Regions from separate parts of the Homo sapiens genome. Here region 1 is linked to region 2. Evidence: promoter capture Hi-C in 16 types of primary human blood cells and fetal thymus (Javierre and others, 2016). All regions are on one chromosome and are shown on one strand. Each heading gives the region's core, a stretch centred on a gene start or on the middle of the fragment in contact. The rest is flanking DNA. Distances are from core to core; before and after follow the strand shown.

What was found. The method cuts DNA at HindIII sites, captures the fragments that hold promoters and counts their contacts. A CHiCAGO score of 5 or more calls a contact.
Region 1: a contact is called between the fragment with the promoter of GGA2 here and the fragment with the promoter of USP31 in region 2, in 5 of 17 cell types (endothelial precursors, activated CD4 T cells, monocytes and 2 more). The highest score is 7.5, in endothelial precursors.

Annotation. Positions count from the first base shown.
Region 1 is chr16:23,508,299-23,512,269 of GRCh38, reverse strand. GGA2 (golgi associated, gamma adaptin ear containing, ARF binding protein 2) reads left to right here and starts at 1,776. Exons shown (of 17, transcript NM_015044.4): 1 at 1,776-1,949. The coding sequence starts at 1,859. RefSeq lists silencers at 1,500-1,549, 1,620-1,849, 1,920-2,089. The HindIII fragment of the contact is 8,010 bases long and covers 1-2,624 here.
Region 2 is chr16:23,147,433-23,151,224 of GRCh38, reverse strand. It overlaps USP31 (ubiquitin specific peptidase 31), which reads left to right and starts at 1,773. Exons shown (of 16, transcript NM_020718.4): 1 at 1,773-2,587. The coding sequence starts at 1,955. RefSeq lists an enhancer at 1,373-1,592 and silencers at 1,773-1,872, 2,023-2,072, 2,173-2,272, 2,403-2,632. The HindIII fragment of the contact is 4,661 bases long and covers 1-3,792 here.

The DNA.
Region 1 (3,971 bases), core at 527-3,026, 360 kb before region 2:
GGAAGGGTGCTAGTTGAAAATACTATATAAACTGATGCTCTTTACAAATGGTAGTGGTCCTCCTGTCCAGCCCACTGCCACTAGACCACCCCGTAAGTCCCCTCAGTAAACCTGCCTCATTCAGTGGCTCTGGGTCTCTTCTTCCGCCTTTCAAACATGGTGCCATCCCTACTGAAGTTAATAGGGGTACGGCACAACAGCTTCAATGGAAAATTATGTGTTGTCTAGACAGCACAACCTTCCAGGTTCTAGCCTTTCTTTGTCTTTGAGAAGTCTCATAACTCTGTTAAGTTGATACCAATGCAAAATAATTCTTGCCTATAAATAGGTAAATTCCGCTCACTGGAGGGACAGCTCTCACCCCGGTCGAAAAGCCAGTTTTGCCTCCATTTGCACATTCGTCTTATCTTCCTTTTTTTCCAGATAAATTTGCCCTTCTTTGACTTCACTTTTGGATTGATTATAACATCTGCTTGGTTCCCTCATGTAATTAAATAAAATATTTAACACGTATTCATTTCATAATTATGATAATCATGACATACTTTTTTGGGAAAATTATCTTTTAACAGAATAAGCAAGTAAATAATACATCGATGGTGTACTGTGTGATGCAGAAAATAAAGCAGAGTATTGAGGAATGCAGGACATGTTAGTTTAGAAGTGTTCCAGGAAACCAGGGAGGTGGAGGTTGCAATGAGCCGAGATAGCACCACTGCACTCCAGCCTGGGCGACAGAGCGAGACTCCATCTGAAAAAAAAAAAAAGTGTTCCAGGAAAACCCTTCTGTGAATAAAAATGCAAGCACATAGGCCGGGCGTGGTGGCTCACCCCTGTAATCCCAGCACTTTGGGAGGGCGAAGCGGGCAGATCACGAGGTCAGGAGTTCGAGACCAGCCTGGCCAACATAGTGAACCCTCGTTTCTACTAAAAATACAAAAAAAAAAAAAATAGCTGGGTGTGGTGGCATGCACCTGTAGTCCCAGCTACTCGGGACGCTGAGGCAGGAGAATCGCTTGAACCCAGGAAGTGGAGGTTGCAGTGAGCCGAGATGGCACCCCTGCACTCCAGCCTAGGCGACAGAGTGAGACTCCGTCTCAAAAAAAGAAAAAAAGAAAAATAAAAAATAAATGCAAGCACTTTGGGAAGTCGAGGTAAGAGGATCTTGTAGCCCAGGAGTTCGAGACCACCCGGGCAACATGGTGAAACCCAGTCTCTAACACACACACACACACACACACACACACACACACGGTGAAACCCAGTCTCTAACACCAGGAGTTCGAGACCACCCGGGCAACATGGTGAAACCCAGTCTCTAACACACACACACACACACACACACACACACACACACACACACGGTGAAACCCAGTCTCTAACACACACACACACACACGCCAGGCGTGGTGGTGCCCTCCCCTAGTCCCAGCTCCTCCGGAGACTGAAGCGGGAGGATCGCTTGAGCCTAGGAGGTGGAGGCTGCAGTGAGCCGTGATCGCGCCATTGGACTCCAGCCTGAGTGACAGAGCAAGACCCCGTCTCTTAAAAAATAAAAATGCTAAAAGAATTATTCGTGTTCTTCTGAAAATCAAATTTAACTGGGCGTCTTGTATTTTATCTGGCAACCGTACGGTGAGTGGTCTTAGAAGACCAGCGCTGGGTGGAGGGATCTGGACTAAGAAATGTTCCGGCCGGTCCCGCGTGGAGGGGGGGCCTGGGGTGGGCGTGGCGCCAGCGGCCCCGCCCCGTCACGTGTCCACCGCTCCTGCCGCGCAGTCAGCAGAGGAGAGCGCCAGGACGCTACAGCGGCTGAAGAGGCAGTGGCGCCCGCGGCCGCAGCGTCGGGGCTGGAGCGATGGCGGCGACCGCGGTGGCGGCGGCTGTGGCGGGAACCGAGTCGGCCCAGGGTCCCCCGGGCCCGGCAGCGTCGCTGGAGCTGTGGCTCAGTGAGTAGCCTGGCAGGCCTTCGGCGCAGCCGCTGCGCCGCACGTGAGGCCTCGCTTCCCGCCTCCCGGGGCCTTGCTTCGGGGCGGGCGGCCGCAGGGGAGGCCGGCGGCCGGGTAGGGGGCCTGGGCCCGGCGCGGTGGGGAAGATCGCCCAGGGGTCCCCCGAGAGGAGCCCCAAGCATCCGCCGGGGCAGCGGCCCCCTTCTGAGCTCTGCCCCTCCCCCTCCGCCCACCCCCCAACTTAGCAGCAGCACAGGACCCCGACCCCCACCCCAATGGCTACGTGACCTGCGCTTTCCCCTGCGCCAGGCACTGTGCTCACAGCGGCTTAGTCCTGCTTAATCCTCATTCCCACCCCGAGCTGGCTTCTATTATTAACCCCACTACGGAAGCGGGGACCTTGAGGCTTAAGGAGACGCAGTCGTGCAAGACATGCAGTCTGTTTGGGGCTGAGAAAGATCTCTATCTGGCTACCGCGTCAAAAAGAAATTTTTTACCTTTTGTGTTTACTTTGGCCAGACTTTTTTTTTTAAACACACACACACGTGTGTGTGTGTGTGCGTATATATATATATGTGTGTTTTTTTTTTCCTTTAAGAGACGGGGTCTCATTATGTTACCCTGGTTGGGCTCAAACCCTTTGGCCAGAATTCTTCTGCATGTCTCCTGTAAGCTTCACAGTCATCTTAGGGGTTATTATTATCTCCGTTTTACCAATGAGGGATTGAGGTTCAAAGGGGATAAAGAATATTCCCCTTGTACCCAGCTCTGCTAGGTGCCAGGAACACTGAGATGCATAACACAGGGTCCTTGCTCACCAAAACATTTTTTAGTGGGTACAAGCCGGCAGTCACATCACCTTACTAACGGGATTGGCGAGGAGGAGGAGGGCGTTCGTTTCACCTGTGGTGGTAGGAGTTGGTTTACCTGGGGGTCGTCACAGCCGACCGCATTCCAGGCAGAAGAAACTGCGTGTGCAAAAGCTGGGGACAAGAGAATGTGGAGCACTCCGGGAACAAGTAGGTCAGTCCGCTGGAGTGCAAGCCTAAAGCTCAGGAATCCGGGAAAGGGGCTGCACGGCTAATTGGGGCGAGATCTTCAAGAGCCTTGTGTGCTGCAGAAAGGAGTTTATGTTTTATCCGAGGGCGGGGTTGCTGTTTGGGAGTTTTCAGCCGGAGAATCTGATCAAGGAAGCCTGTTAAAGGCGTCACTTGCAGCCATATGGTGCTAAATTGGGCGGAGAGGGTGAGACTTCAGGCAGGGAGAGCGGCTAAAAAGCTCTTTTGGTGGTGGTTGGGGGCCGCAGGAGGACTAAGGCAGTGGGGAGAGGGAGAAGCAATGAGCAGGCGTAGTCAGCAGCCTCGGTGCCTTGGAATGCAGACAGGGGACAAGGAGAAATCTAGGCTAGATCGCGGGTTTCAGGCTCGAGGAACTGGTGGGTTACAGATGCCTCCCCTGTGAGGAGGAGCTGGTTTAGGCAGAGAAGGTTGAGATGTGGAGTTTGAGGTGCTTGTGGCATAGTCAAAAAAGAGATGCCCTCTAGGCAGCTGGTTGGCACTGGAGAGGGCAAGTGTGGGACGTACGGTTTGGGAGTCTGGTTCATTGGCAGTGAGCTTGCGGGAGAAGCTTGCGTATATTAAGAGCAGAGGTTTGGAAAGAGAGCGTGGGGAGCCCCAGCATTGAAGAGGCAGATGGGAAGAGAAGACTGAAGGCTGAGCAGAAACAGGCAGGGGGAGACCTGCAGGGGCACCCACTGATAGCAAAGGAGGGATGTGGTTGTAACGTAGTTTTGCTCCTTAAAGATGGAGGAGAATGAGGAAGGAGAAGAGAGAACTTTGAATTTGGTAACCAACCAGTTATTTAATGAGACATCCTTGAGTTAAACAGTAGAGACAGAAGGTAGTAGTTTTAGGAGGCAATGGAGAACAGAAGGCTTAGACTGGAGTTGCAAAAATTAGAAAAAAAGGCTGTTCATGCCTGTAATCGCAGCACTTTGGGAGGCTGAGGTGGGCCAATCCTTTG
Region 2 (3,792 bases), core at 524-3,023:
GAAGGTGATGATTGTAAACTGAATTGCAATATGGTCAAGTCAGTGTCATGAATGAGAGGTGCCAAGAGGGCCTGTGGAAGGGACATCTCCTGGAGGGGGTGATATCTAAGGTGGGACTTTAAGGATGAGGGGAAGTTAGCTAAGTAGAAAGGTTCTAAGTTAGCTAAGGAAAGGTTCAAGGGAGAGGGAACGGCTCCAGCAAAGGCCCTCGAGTCTAGATCAAACTGCCCAGAAGTTGAGGGCCATTGCATTCACATTTTAGTGTGAATAATCAGATGGCTTTCTTCCTGGTGTCCAGATAAGAATTTTGACTAAGAGGAGAGTGGAGCCGATTAGGGACAGTGCAGAGCACCCTGGAGATGTCATCATAGAGCCCTACTTACATTGGGGAGGGAGGTCAAAGGTAAAAACCATTTACTTTGAAACGTGGTGTAAGGTGGCCTTCATGTTTTAAAAAGGAGGAAGGGCTCTCCCTTCTCTGATTTCTCTCTTCTGCCTCAGGACTCAGACTAGCCCTTTTAGCAGAGGGGAGCCTATAGAGAGGAGGTCATATACTAGTTGATTTTGGACTAAAGGCATCCCAAAGATGTACTATTTTTTGCTCCCTGCACTATTTTTTTTTTAATGGAACCAACGTTTAAAAATAGGATTTCTGCCTTCTCTTAAAACATCAGATGATCTGGTAACGCTGAGCTCCTGTTCTCACATGGGAACAACTGGCTGGAGCTGAGTGGCAGCCACCTCTTTAGAAAGATGTTAATTTGAAGTCTGCTATAGTCCCCATCATTCCTTATATTTCCCCCAACACTGAGACCCAAGTCACTTGAAAGTCAATATGATGATTCAAACACCAGGATTCTTCACTCATTTGTGGGTTTGTGACCTGTGATATTTGTGGATTCGTGACCTTTGGTTTAGAGGTCAAGTATAGGGGTTGTAAATAAAACTTGGGTTTGAATCAGATAAGAACTGTACCAATCTCAAAGACGGTGAATTAAAGATTAAAGAAAATATTGCATGCTTGGCATAATGTGTGGAACACAACAGCTATTGTAAACACCCAGTAGGAATGTAAGCTGCAAGAGGGCAGGTAGAAACCGTGCTAATTTAATCCGCTGGGGATATGACATTTGATTCTAATTTAATAGGTTTAATTCTTTGCAATATCCCCAGTAACTGCTGAATGAATGAGTGAGTGAATGAATGAATGGAATGATGAATGATGGGAGAGCCCGGAGGAGTTTTAAAGGCTGGAATGAAAAGGAAAGTAGTTATGATAACAGCGTTTCGCTGGGACTCCAAGGTGCAGCCAGGAAGAAAAGCCCGCTGGGACGTGCCAGGGTCTGTGACTGCGCTCCGCTGGCACCCAGAGGGTAGGTATCTGCAACGTCCCTTGGGAGCCAGACAGGGCTGACTTGCCCAGGACCTGTCAGGGCCATGTCCACCAGCTCTTGCACGGTCTGGTAACTGACAGCATCCTGATTCCTGCACGTTCCCGCCTCTGCCATCTGACCAGCAAAGACAGAGACCCACCCCGGGGATCCACCATCCAACGGGAGCCCAGCCTTTTCCTCCAAGCCGGGACGGCGCCCACACTAGACATGGCCTCCCTCGGGCTTCACGCAGCAGGACCGCGCCCGCAGCCTCCAGGCATCGCGTCCGGCTGGAGAGGCAGCTACCGTCCCACAGTGAACATGGCGGCCGAGGCGGCTTCAGCGCCGGGCGGGCGGCGCCGGGAGGCACGTCACGTGAGCGGCTCAGCTGGGCGGACCGCGCGCGCGCCCGCTGGCCCCGCCGGCCGCCGCTCGCTCGCTGGCTCGGCTGCGCTTTGAGGTGTGTGGGGCGTCGAGCCCCCGGGCCCGGTGAGGCGCGGCGCTGCGGGATGCGGCGGCGGCCGTGGCGGGGCCGCGGGCCGGGCGGGCGGGCGCGGTGATGAGTGTCTGCGGCCGCCGCCATGTCCAAGGTAACGGCGCCTGGGTCCGGGCCGCCGGCGGCGGCGAGCGGGAAGGAGAAGCGCTCCTTCAGCAAGCGGCTGTTTCGGAGCGGCCGCGCTGGCGGCGGCGGCGCGGGGGGCCCCGGGGCGTCCGGGCCGGCCGCGCCTTCCTCGCCCTCCTCGCCCTCCTCTGCACGCTCGGTGGGCAGCTTCATGAGCCGCGTTCTCAAGACGCTGTCCACGCTCTCGCACCTTAGCTCTGAGGGCGCCGCCCCAGACCGCGGCGGCCTCCGCAGCTGCTTCCCGCCCGGGCCGGCCGCCGCGCCCACGCCGCCGCCGTGCCCGCCGCCGCCCGCCTCTCCCGCGCCGCCCGCTTGCGCCGCCGAGCCGGTGCCCGGCGTGGCGGGGCTCCGCAACCACGGCAACACGTGCTTCATGAACGCCACGCTGCAGTGCCTCAGCAACACCGAGCTCTTCGCCGAGTACCTGGCGCTGGGCCAGTACCGGGCGGGGCGGCCCGAGCCCTCGCCTGACCCGGAGCAGCCTGCGGGCCGCGGCGCGCAGGGCCAGGGCGAGGTCACTGAGCAGCTGGCGCACCTGGTGCGGGCCCTCTGGACCCTGGAGTACACCCCGCAGCACAGCCGCGACTTCAAGGTGAGCCCGCGCGCCGCCGCGCCCCCACTGCACCCCGAGCCCCTGGGGCACCTGCCCGCCCAGGTCTTCCTTCCCTCGGTTCCTCTTGGCCCGGCAGGCTTCTGCATTGGTTGCTCCGAGTGGTCTGGGCAGTCGACCAGTGATTTTAAGGAGATTCATTCATTCATTCATTTATTCACTCACTCACTCACTCAAACATGTATTTATTGAGAACTTACTACATACGTGCCCATACTCTGTGATAATAGGCAATGGGAGTGACGTTGCAATGAACAAGACTATCCGCCTTCATGGAACTTGCATTTTTGTGGGGTGGGAGTGTTGAGCATGGGTTCAAATCCTGGTTCTGCCACTTACTAGCAATGTGACGTCGGGTAAGTTAAGCAGCCTCTCTGTTCTTACAGTTTCTTCATCTGGGGGACCTACTTTGTAAGGTGGTTGTGAGCTGCAAACAAGTTAATATATTAAATCGAACACTGTGGAATTACCCATATTTAACCGTTTTTTATTTACAGATTGGCACTTTTATAGGGTTCAACCTGATAAGTAAAATACTTCCATATCATGTGTATTTGCTGCTATTATTTTTGTTATTAAAGACTTGAAGAAGTTAACGAGATAATATCAGATAGTGGTTTGAAGAAAGAAAAACCTGCTGCTGTGATTGATGTGCTGACAGGCTACTTTTTATTTTTATTTTATTTTTAGAGACAGGGTCTTGCTCTGTTGCCCAGGCTGGAGTGCAGTGCTCACATAGCCTCAAACTCCTGGGCTCAAGCAATCCTCCCGCCTCACCTTCCAGAGTATTTAATAGCTGGGACTACAGACACACACCACCATACCTACCTATTTTTTATTTTTAAAACACTTTTGTAGAGACGGGGGTTTTGCTGTGTTGCCCAGACTGGTCTTGAACTCTTGTCCTCAAGCCACTCTCCCCGCTTTGGCCTCCCAAAGTGCTGGGATTACAGGGGTGAGCTATACATCCCTGGGGGTATGTATGGCCCTTGGCCAAGCCCTCCTTTGCTGTTTGCTGGTGGGGCTGCAAGTGTAGTGAGAGGGTGAGATTTGAGAGCCGAGTGGTGGGCTGGGACCGGATGGTATGGGACCATTTAGGATGCACTAAGAAATTGGGCGGTTACTCTAAGCAGAAGGGGAACATGATGTGAGATTGTGTAAGGGATACTTTCAGGTGGGACATGAAT